Linked DNA regions of Homo sapiens: region 1 is linked to region 2. Evidence: promoter capture Hi-C in human tissues and cell types (Jung and others, 2019). All regions are on one chromosome and are shown on one strand. Each heading gives the region's core, a stretch centred on a gene start or on the middle of the fragment in contact. The rest is flanking DNA. Distances are from core to core; before and after follow the strand shown.

Evidence for each region. Contacts are between HindIII fragments. The study calls those that stand out against the background at their distance.
Region 1: a fragment that was not itself captured here is called in contact with the fragment with the promoter of ESCO1 in region 2 in 2 of the 25 tissues and cell types used here (aorta and mesenchymal stem cells).

The regions. Positions count from the first base shown.
Region 1 is chr18:21,360,089-21,366,126 of GRCh38, forward strand. It overlaps GREB1L (GREB1 like retinoic acid receptor coactivator), which reads left to right. Exons shown (of 33, transcript NM_001142966.3): 2 at 5,939-6,038. Among named protein-coding and RNA genes, the nearest start is that of GREB1L-AS1, 88 kb to the right of the region's middle. The HindIII fragment of the contact is 4,057 bases long and covers 1-3,958 here.
Region 2 is chr18:21,597,954-21,604,030 of GRCh38, forward strand. ESCO1 (establishment of sister chromatid cohesion N-acetyltransferase 1) reads right to left here and starts at 2,751. Exons shown (of 12, transcript NM_052911.3): 1 at 2,670-2,751. RefSeq lists enhancers at 1,095-1,389, 2,457-2,976, 4,301-4,380. The HindIII fragment of the contact is 11,871 bases long and covers 1-5,772 here.

The sequences.
Region 1 (6,038 bases), core at 680-3,179, 240 kb before region 2:
ACTTCCAAAATTGTGAATAATTCTTTCAGTTGACAGTTATATTTCTTGTATTTTAAACTATCAGTCATATATTTATTTTTCTTATTTTTAAGCTTTCTTAACTTAAAACAAAGGGTTTTTGTTTTTGTTTTATTATTATTATTTCTTTGAGACGAAGTCTCGCTCTGTCATCCAGGCTGGAGTGCAGTGACACGATCTCGGCTCCCTGCAACCTCCGCCTCCCGGGTTCAAGCAATTCTCCTGCCTCAGCCTCCTAAGTAGCTGGGAGTACAGGTGCTTGCCACCACACCTAGCTAATTTTTTTTTTTTGTATTTTTAGTAGAGATGGCGTTTCGCCATGTTGGCCAGCCTGGTCTCAAACTCCTCACCTTAGGTGATCCACTCGCCTCGGCCTCCCAAAGTGCTGGGATTACAGGCACGAGCCACTGCACCCGGTGACTGATATTAGGATTAAATGAAATACATATATCTTTGCCTATGGAGTCTCTAAACTTATGAATTTAGTGAAATAGCTTGAACATTTTCAACTGGTAAAATTAGATCACTATAGTTGAATCATTTGGTGCAAAGTGTTAATGTGACATTGAGATAGAATTTATCAGACTCAATTAGAAAAACTCCTCTCATTTAAATAAAACAAAAAATTGAATACGTAGAGAAAAGGTTATACATGCTTTTTATTCTCTTTCCATTTTAGAAAGCAAATGAACATAATTATGAAATAGGTAAGTCATGCCTAATGATAAAATATCCTCCATTTTTAAGGAATAATTTCACTGTGTTTCACATTTGGTGACTTCTGGGATCTATATTTCCATTTAAATAACTGTTGACATTGTTGGAAAATTGGTGAGTGTATGTGATGACAGTTACAGTACATATTGGATAACAAGGGTAGAATAAATCAGTTAAGTCGTGGTGGTCTGTTATCTATTTTTAGGTCTTTTTGACCCAGGAGTCTGTGACCTATGAAATCTCCACTTTTTTGGATTTGTTAAGGTATTTTACAATGCAAAGATTTAAATTTAGATGAGTACCACACTGAAGGATACTGGCTAATGTGGTCCAAAACATAAAGGATATCAAAGTATACACTGGGAAAAGCTTGTGAAGTTCCGATAACGTATGTGAGAAGAGAGAGGCTACAGTTAAGGAAGTTTCTTTTCTGCTCTAACTTATAACAAAGAGAATCTGAAATTTAAGCTGGTATTTGCCATGCTCTGAGTACTCAGCAGCATGCCATTTTGTGAAATTATTGCTGAGAAAATGTACCCAAATCTTGAGTACAGAGTGTTCCTGCATCTGATTGGAAGGGGCACATGAATTGTTTCTAAGGTATTGCAGACCCAAGGCTGCACAAATTAAGGTGGAGACTTGGGGGAGGGATCCAGTCAGGGAAGGGAAGCTTCCTAGACATTACAGCTCTGTCCAGAGGCCAAATGGGAGATAAATCACCACTGGCCACCTCTCTTATTATTGAAATGGTACAGCCCTGGGGTTTAACTGAAGGACTGACAGGGTTTTGAAGTGCAAATAGAATGGTGAAGAGTAAACCCTTTTAGGGTTTCATTTTGATGGATTTTTTTTTCCTGTGTGGATTTCTGGTACAGACTGTGATCTGGAAGGGGCCCTTAAAAAAAAAAAAGTTTTGTTTTTGATCAGTCAGACAATAAGAACTTTCCACAGGGATGTACTTTTCTAGCATGCATATTGATTCTATTGTGTTTTAAAGTAGATCATTTAATTGGATCTTTTTTTGAGCCTTCTGCAGTGGAGCTGTCATTTCAAGGTCACTTCTCTTTCTTGTTATTAATGCCAGAGTTTGAAAGTGTTGAATGATGTGGTAGTTTTGGATTAATAGATTGTGGGAGATTACTTAGGGCCAGTGTGTATAAGGCTTTGTTTATAAAGTCTCCTAGTTAAAGATCCAGTCCATATTAGAACAAGTATTTTATATAAGTGTTCTATAATTATTTAATCTTTTTTCTATTGTGATATGATTTTACATACTCATTTTATTATTTTGTATGTATTCTACTTTGCCAGCCTTAAAAAAAACCCAGAAAATTCTGAGATTATGAAATATTATACTGTTATTTATGAAAGATACATTGAAGTGTTTGAGGAAATAAGAGAGACATAAAAATGTTTAAGTAACTGATATGTTGATTTATATAAGTTGAAATTTTTTTAACCTCCTCCCCACAAGTAATTCAATCACAGGAGACAAAATATATTTTAAAATTTGTGTTTTTTTTGGAAAGTGGGGAGGAGAGGAGTCATTAGTAACCCCAAAGAAAAATGATTGTAGCATAACTTAAAGACTTTGTGTGCAAACATTTTAGAGAAAAAAATATTTTTATTAAAGAAATGCCATTATAAGTATTTAGATTTCTTCTTAGAAATATTGTCAATGGAAATTTTCTTAAGCATTTTGGCTCTTTTCTTTAGATGTAACATAAATATTTGTATCATTTGCCCTTTTTGAGAAGAATAATGTATTTAGCTCCAACAGAGGTTTTCCTGTGTTGCTCGATATCTATTCTAAAAACGGGTTGTTAATCTCCATAATTGGCATTGACCACATGATGTTCTTAATTGACCTCCAGGTTAGTTTTTGTTTTTATGTTCTTCGAAATTTCCCCTTCACTGTATTTGTCTGAATGTTAGAGTTATATTTACTTCCTATTCTGTCTGATAGTTTTAAATAAGATGTTTTAAACAACAGTCACAACGAAAGTCCTAGAACCTAGATGGCATCAAGCAGAGTCTCCTGCATCTACAGCTTCCCTGTCATTAGTTTGTTGCTGGGAGATGTTAATATGACCTTTCCTTTGTTAGAAAAGAGCTGTGCAGCCCTTCCCAGAATCCTCTTGTAAAATGTCTTTTTAACCCAAGTTGGAGGTTGTCTGATGAATGGTTGGCTTTTTCAAATGTGCTGCACATATTGTTGACATTGTCACAGGTTGCTTTTTAATTTCTAATGTGTTTTTAATTTGCAAAGCATGCATGTGCCTTTCACCGCAGTAGAATTGAGTCAGCATTTCTGAGTCCAGATATTAAGAGTCAGGCTTAAGAATGCTGTATGGTAGACTTAGATTTCCTGAAACACTTGTGAATGAATTTCACTTTGAATATTGATGAATAAAAGAAGATACTTGAGAAAGGCTCCCCCTGCCCCCACTCCGCCTCCCCCCCGCCCCCCCCCCCCCACACACACAAGAACTCCTCCTGCCTATTGGTGAGTGAATTGCCCCGATATAAAAGCATTGGGTGGGGAAAAGTGAGTTACAGAGTGAAAAGGCAATCCACAAATAATCACTCTTTTCTGCCTTTGATTGTGTCAGATTTTTTTTGTGTGTGTGGCAATTGTTTTCTTTTTTGCTTAGAAGAGGTTTATGGTCCAATGTCTGTCAAGTCAGCCCCTGTCTTAAGCTTGCAGTTGTATTTCTCTCTGGAGTTCCTGGAGGTGATGTTATCTTTTGTTCACTCAGCAGTGTGGTCGTTTCTGAGAGCATCTGTCACTTTAGGCATTACAAGATGGATGGGTCTCCAGTGAACTGCTGGTTGAAGCAAATGGTGAAAATAAGAAAATCAAGGGGTTTCAGGGTCTGCAGAGGGGACAGACAACAAGGAAACACTGTTAGAAATCAAGAGTAAGCTGAGCAATAGAGGAAGAGAGCAAAGATGGATCAGATGTCATTTTATAAACATCTTGGAAATCAGAATCTTTTGGTGGCTTTCGTGATCTGAGGGAGACATCTGCATCATGGTAAACAATTCCATGCTTTGGATTTGCAAAATGTGTTTGAATATATATTTTTTAATCTTGATAAAGTATTGGGAAATAATCATAATGATACAGAATATATTATGTGAGGATTTTGCTGTTTGGAGAATTAGTAGTCTTTTAAATGTTTTAAAGATTAAATTAGAAATCTAACCTTAAAATTTTTGTTTTTTCTTTTTTTCTTTCCTTCCTCTTTTTTTCTAAATTTTCTTTTTGTAAACAAGTGAGCAAGCATAGACATTAAAATGAAAAGTTTTGGCCACATAACTAATATTCTTATTGTTTACTAAATGCTTTTTGGCACTTTTGTAGAGGAATTCTGAAAATTCAGTGCTCAGGCTTTTGGGAGGCTGGGGACAGATTTTAAGTTATTTTCAGTAACCTTCAACTTAAGGGGCTCTTTGGTCAAAAAAAGAAATATAATTGTTATTGATCTGTCAGAACAAGTTGGAGATTTGTATTGTATTTAGAAATTTATTTTGTTGGTGAAGGTCAAAATTTATAAATCCTGGCTAATACAAAGTCCCTCCTGTGAAAGACAAGGAACAGGAAGGAGGTTGGCCAGGGAGTAAGAAAGGAGAAGAGGGGGCAATATGATTGCAAAAAAAAAAAATGATTTTGTCAAACTTCTTGGCATTTGTCTATTAAAAAGACCATAGGTTGAAAGGCAAAGAAATTAAGATGATTAGAAGCTTTAAGCTATACAAATGGTTGAGTATCTTCCTTCTCTATGGATGTAAATAATAGATGAAAGAGTAAGAGTGACAACAAAGGATCAGGTCGTTTAAGAGAATGTGTGCAGCCTGAATAGGGGTCTGTGGCCCAGGGCCAAAGGTCTTAGCTTTGAGTGTAATTAGAAGAAAATACAAAAATGTCATTACTAACAGGTGAAGTGTGCAGCACGTGGCCAAAAATTAGCAATTTTAGACTCTGAAGCTATTGGAATTAGATTACTGACTTTTTTTTTTTTTTTAATCATTAGGGTCCTTGTGGAGTAATATAGTTTCATTGGCAGTAATGCAGTTTGACCTTGTTGACCATATGGGGTAATCTTGGGTTTGGATGTAGGTAGCAAGGCTCCTGCTGACTTAGGAAAAGATGTCTATTTATGTGTGGGCGGGTGGGATATATGTGAGTTTGAAAACCTAGACCTTCCATTTTTAATTATTATTTTGCCTGAAGACATTCTTCTGACAGTAAGAGGTAAGATAAATATTTTTATTCGAAAAATCTAAAATTTTTTTTCTTTCAAGTCGGCATAAGAGAAAAGTAAAATGAAAAAAACCATTTTTAGACAACATAAATTAATTTTACTTCAAATATTTTAGTTATATAGATATTTATATTGAAGTTAGTTTCTTAGGAAAATCCTCTTTTGTTTTCTTTTTAAACAAAGTAACAAAGGACTAGAAATGCTTCTATGTTATCTATAAAAATCAATGACAAGTAGTTTTCATTTCACTTTATGTTTTACAACTATATTTCCTATTTTCCCATGCAGTAGTTTATATTGACCATAATCTATTTAGAGGAGAGATGAACATGCATACTATACTTTTCAACCAATTATATGCAATTATAATTATTTAGTTTAATATCTTCTAGGAATACATTACTCAGAAGGGTAAGAAACAATAGCTCTTGTTCTTTTTGCAGGCTTTCTTACTGGAAAATTTTCAATCAATAGTAATTATGTTTTACGTTTTTGATAGTTCTTTGAGTAGATAAATTTGGGCCGGGTATCAGGGATTATTACTCCTAAATTCCTTAGATAAGAAAATTACCTTCCACTAATTTCATTCCTAAAAGTAGTCTGTTGGCTTTTGATATTATGGTAACATCTGCCATAAATGCAGACTTGACAGACTTATTCAACTTACTTTTAGTGGGGGAAATCATAAGAACAACAGAAATTATCTTTGAGTATATATAATTAGGAGTAATTATTTTGAGACTATTGAGAAAAGTGGAGTATCTGTATATTTGCTCATTATAATGTATATGGAGTTGGAAAGTGTGAGACTTTGATAATTTCTAACTGTGATTTTCATGGAATTATAAATATTTAGATTATTATATTATAGAATATGTATTTGGAAATTAACTCATGTCTTTATGTATATATTTTTATTTTTTATGTTTTTGCAGGTGCACAAAAAGCTTTAAACAAGTTAAAATCTAGGCAACAGACTCCCTGAAGTGTTGACTGCCCAACTTAATCATGACTGTGATTCAAAAATGTTAATAA
Region 2 (6,077 bases), core at 1,501-4,000:
ATAATACAGAACTTATACAGGAAAAACAGAACCAAAGGATTTTCATTGAATGATCCACAGAAAAATATGAAAGTCAGGGTTACAAAAGGGGTAATATAGTCCTTAATTATCTACAGTAACAATTTTACTGGAGTTGGTTTCTAGTACCTAAATTTTAATCACCTTCAATAGAAGGTATTCCAAGAACTCTATGTGGTACAAAAATCTGCCAATAAAAGTCATGAAAAAATATTTAACTATTACAAAAAAATCCATTATTCGAACTGTGCAGCGCTGGTCACGTTCATTAACAGAATAAATACAATCAGCTCTGCATAATAAATTACCAAGCTAAAAAGGACTATCTGGCAAAAGAAGTTAATGGCATTCATTAATTAGGGTACTTTTTTAGTTATTCTGTGAAGCATAATTTATCAATTTAAATGCCAGCACCTTGTATGGGACGGACATTAAAAAAATTACTTGGCCGGGCATGGTGGCTCACGCCTGTAATCCCAGCACTTTGGGAGGCCGAGGCAGGCGGATCACCTGAGGTCAGGAGTTCAAGACCAGCCTGGCCAACACGGTGAAACCCTATCTCTACTAAAAATACAAAAAAATTAGCCGGGCATGGTGGCACTTGTCTGTAATCCCAGCTACTCGGGAGGCCGAGGCAGGAGAATCACTTGAACCCAGGAGGCGGAGATTGCAGTGAGCCGAGATCTCGCCACTGCCCTCCAGCCCGGACGACAGAGTGAGACTCCATCTCAAAAAAAAAAAACAAACAATTACTTGTTCACTACAGGATTATAATATTGATTGAGAAAGGTGAGACAATAGCATATTTTCCTCAGTTAGCAATGATAAAGGAGTTCTAGCTCGTAAGCCAGGACAAATTTTGGAATTGTGCTTCCAAAGTCACATATCTGACCCAACAGTGATACTCTGCATTCTGCCTAAAAGGGAAAAAGTGGCTCTATTACAGTCCTAGTTTCCTCATTTCCTCACATGCTCTAGGCCTGAATTTGCGACTTCCAAATTAAGCACGTTTTAAAGCACTTCTCATCCTACTCCCATGTCTAATTCCATTGATTAGATTTTTTGCTTTTCAAAAAAAAAAAAAAATTCACCAGGCACAGTGGCTCAGGCCTGTAATCCCAGCACTTTTGGAGGCCCAGGTGATCACTTGATCCCAGGAGTTCGAGACCAGCCTGGGCAACATGGCGAAACGCCGTCTCAACAACAAATAGAAAACTTAGCCTAACATGGTAGCGGACGCCTGTAGTCTCAGCCACTCAGGGAGGCGGAGGTGGGAGGATTGCTTGGGGCCGGGGAGGGAGGTCAAGGCTGCAGTGAACAGTGATTACACCACTGCAATCCAGTCTGGGCGACAGAGCGAGACCCCGTCTCAAAATAAAATAATAACTTAAAACTTTATTCGTGTTGGTGTCCTGTGTAAAGCAGAAACTAAGTACTTGACCAGAAGACAAAGTGAATATAGCATAGTTCACTGCAACCTGGATGTTTTCAACTGAAATCTATGTTTTATCCACTTTTTTAAAAAAGCCAATGCTGGTGGGGGGACTAACCACACCTTATGCCACCAAGTAGCGCTTTTGTTTCCTGCGAAGCTTATTTATTGAGATATCGTTTTGTAATACTATCTAGATACTGTGTGCTGCGATTCCTGTTTAAAGGAATCTCATTGCAGCTAAGACTACAGAAAACATGGTTCATAGTACTTCTCAAATCGCAAAGCTTGAGCTCCTTCCTCCTCCTCTTCCTCCCTCCCCTGGTCCCCGCTGCGTCCCCATCGCCCCGGAAAATAAAGCACACGCCGGATTTTCGGACGCATCATTGAGAGGCGGAGGGAGAGGAGGTAGTCTTCGAATTGTTGGACTTGCTATCCCATTCTGCCTGTGCAAAATAAACCCCCATAGTAAAATAATCTTAACCCGTGATAAAAATCGAGGACCCAATTCTCTTTGGTTCGCCTCTCTCCATCGCTATAAACTTCACTGCGGCCCTCAATGCACTCATTTCTACTCCAGAGCCGCCCTACCTGTGCCGAGACCCCCATTTGCAGCATGAGTTACTCTATGACCTTGGGCCCGCTCCCCTCCCAAACTGAAGGCTGTAAAACCAAGACCCCACATCGCGCCCCGCAAACTGCAGAGGCCTCCAGGCTCAGGCCGGGTCAGCGGGTTGCGCCAGGAGGCGGCGAGGGACTGGCTCCGGTGAAGCGCCGGGAAGAGAAAACGCAGGGGGCGGAGACGGGGCCCGGAGCTACCTGCGGGACCAGCACTGGCGCTGCCCCGGTGCTAGCAATGGCTGCGCGCCACCTCGGGGCTCCCGGAGCCCTCGCGGCAGTGCTGGGAACTCCGGCCCTGCCCCGTCGGCGGTCACGACCCCTTATGAACTTCGACCGCCCAGCAAACAGCGGCAGGTGGTGCGCGGACACGCGAGCACGTTAGCTGCCTACCTCAAGCGACGGCGTCTTGGAGCCTAGAGCCTCCCACCTCCCTCCCAGGGGCGCGAAGAGCTGGGACCGGAGCAGTAGGAAGGGGCGTGCGAGGCAACACGCCACCGAGGGTGGAACAGGAAGAGGGAGAACTGTCCGCTCCCTGAAGGGGCTGGCAAAAGAGAGGTGAAGACACAGGCGGCGGGGACCGTCAGGGACGCTCGCGTACCTTCCTTTTGCCTGGCGGAGGGTCAGACTAGCGCCAGCGGATCGCCTCACATCCGGGTATCAGGAGACACTCAGCTGCTTCTGCTGCGGCCGCCGCCTCCCCCGCGGCGCAAACACCAAACTTCCGGCGACGACGGCGACGCCTCGCTCGTCAGATGGGAGTTACCTGTGACCGTCTTGGGTGCGCTTGCGCAACGCTCCTCTTCAGCCCTAACCGGCTCAGCTGACGTGCCCAGAAGACGAAGATGGCCGCCACGCTCACTGCGTGTCACGCAGTTTTTCACCCCGGCCCGGACGGCTGGGCGTCGAGGAAAGGCGAGCTAGTGTCCATCCTCAGCGCAGGCGCGGTGGGAGGCCTAGCGCGCGCGCCTCCGCGGGTGGTCGCCTGGCAGGGAAGTGGCGGCGCCCCCTAGCGGCGGCCGCTTGTCGTTCCTGGGGTCATCGCTTTGAGCTGAAAACCACCCAGGCCCCCAGCGGTTGTGGTTTACCTTGGAAATTTGTCGCAACTGGTTGCCATGTAGGTTTTGGCTGCTTCTGTCTGCGATGTATAATCCAAGTGCCTTTGGTCTTCCATATGAGCCAATGTAAAGAAGGAGGGTGGGGCCGGGCGCGGTGGTTCACGCCTGTAATCCCAGCACTTTGGGAAGCAGAGGCGGGTGGATCATTTGAGGTTAGGAGTTCGAGACCAGCCTGGCCAACATGGCCAACATGGTGAAACCCCGTCTCTACTAGAAATACAAAAATTAGCCGGGTGGTAGTGGCGTGCGACTGTAATCCCAGCTACTCGAGAGGCTGAGGCGGGAGAATCCCTTGAGCCTGGGAGGCGGAGGTTGTGGTGAGCTGAGACTGGGCCACTGCACTCTAGTCTGGACGAGTGAGACCCTGTCTCAAATAAAAAAAAAAGGAGGGTGCAGTCCCTACACTGCCCTCCAGCACCTCCAAAAAATGCAGGGCTTCGCCCTCTCCTTGCACACTTTCTTCCTGTGTATCAGAGTGCAAGAATCATCAGAAATTGTAAAATATTCTGCTAGACTTAGTCAGACTGAGTGTTCAGACAAAGCTTTGGCTCGCTCTTGGACGCCTCTAGAGATAGAATCCAAGATTCTATCACTAGGATTCATGGTTCCCACACTTCTTTCTTTTGTGACAGGAAGGATCTTGCTGTGTAGCCCTGGCTGGTGTGCAGTGGCACAGTAACGGCTCACTGCAGCCTCGACTTGGGCTCAAGCGATCCCACCTGCCTCAGCCTCCCTGAGAACTGCATGTATGAAGCCCACGACACCATGCCAGGCTAATTTTTTTTTTTTTTTTTGAGATGGAGTCTCACTCTTGTCACCCAGGCTAGAGTGCAATGGCACGATCTCGGCTCACTGCAACCTCCGCCTCCCAGGTTCAAGGAATTCTCCTGCCTCAGCCTCCTGAGTAGCTGGGACTACAGGTGCCTGCCACCATGCCCGGCTAATTTTTTATTTTTAGTAGAGACGGGGTTTCACCATCTTGGCCAGGCTGGTCTCGAACTTCTGACCTTGTGATCCCACCTGCCTCGGCCTCCCAAAGTGCTGGGATTACAGGCGTAAGCCACCGCGCCCGGCCGCCAGGCTAATTTTTTTATATTTTGTAGGGATAAGGTCTCACTGAGACCAGCCCAGGCTGATCTCGAACTCCTGGCCTCAAGTGATCCTCTCTTCTCTCCTTGGCTTCCCAAAGCGCTGGGACTACAGGCCTAAGCCACTGCTCCGGCTACTAGACTGCTTTTGAACATATGTTCTGTGCTACCCTTTGCTTATTTGCGGAACTGTGAGGCTAGTTCGGTACTTCTGCATTTCAGAATGGGAAGAGGTGATCATAAATGGGTTTTCCCCTTCCTGCCCTCCTTCTTTGAAGCCAAGTACAACCAAAATGTGCTCTAAGTTTGTCAAACCTGATGTTTTTCTGACAATTCATCTTCCACGAATAGTGAGCTGCCTGTCAGTTTGCGCAGGGAGATGTTATGGCTTAAAAACAAAAACGAGGCTGGGCGCAGTGGCTCACGTTTGTAATCCCAGCTGTTTGGGAGGTATTGATGGGTGAGGCCATTCTTCACATTACCATAGTTGTGTTACTTGGCAAAGACCTGTCCGCTGCTTCCACCTTCAGCTCCAGTCCCTGATACACACTTTAATGACATATGCCAAACAGCTCAAATTGGGGGCGGGGGGTGGGGCGGGGGAACAGGAGTAAACTACTGGTCTGGTTAAAAGCTGGTTATTTATCAGGAGACCTGACCTATGTTTCCCTTCATCTTCGTCTTCTGATTGCCAGACAACTGGTGGGACTTCTTTTGGTTGGATAAACTACTTTGTCTATAGTAATTCAAATTCTGGCATACAAAGAAACCATATTTATGAGTGTCGATTCTCACAAAATAGGCCTCTGCTTCTGAGTAGTCTATTCCACTCTATGTGCTAAATTGGCCTCAATCAGGAGCATAGGAATTCGTGCAAATATCAGACCATATGAAATCATAGCCCTCCGGCCAGGAGCCTAGGCCATAGCAGCTTGTTGCTCTGCTGACCCTGGTGTCTGATCCCAGCCAGTGGCCTTAAAAAAACAAGAAACGAAATAAATCATGTATTTTCGATACATAATTCATGCCTGCAATTTATGCTGTATTTTCTTTTTTTTTTTTTTTTTTTTGAGACAGAGTCTTGCTCTGTTGCCCAGGTTGGAGTGTTGTGGCGTGATCTTGGCTCACTGCAACCTCCGTCTCCCTGGTTCAAGCAATTCTGCCTCAGCCTCCAAATTAGCTGGGATTACAGGTGCCCGCCATGACGCTCAGCTAATTTTTTTGTATTTTTAGTAGAGACAGGGTTCCACCATGTCAGTCAAGCTGATCTGGAACACCGGACCTCAGGTGATCCACCCTCCTCGGCCTCCCAAAGTGCTGGGATTACAGGCATGAGCCACCGTGCCTGGCCTTATTTTCTTTTCTAAAACTATATATAATCAGTTTCTGTGAAAAGAATAAATAGTTTGCGTTCATGGGAAAAAATAAACTTTCTTGAGCATTATTCTTTATCATTTTGAAGGATATTTTTCACTTCCGATTCATGAATACCAGTAGTCTCAATTTGTAGTGTAATTGATTAAATCTTCCTCTGAACTATTATATCATATTTGTTTTTCCTTCTATCGGTAGTTTTCTTTTAGAGCATTCTATCTATGAGCTTTGGAATTTGGTTCATTTAATTTGGTTGTCTACTAAGAAACAATAATAATCTGATTAAATAATAATCCATTATTATTTAAATGTCTTTGAGATTACAGTCTCTTTCAGGAAAGAGTAAAGAATTAAAGTTGGCCGGACACAGTGGCTCATGCCTGTAATCCCAGCACTTTGGGAGGCCGAGGCGGGCAGATCATCTGAGGT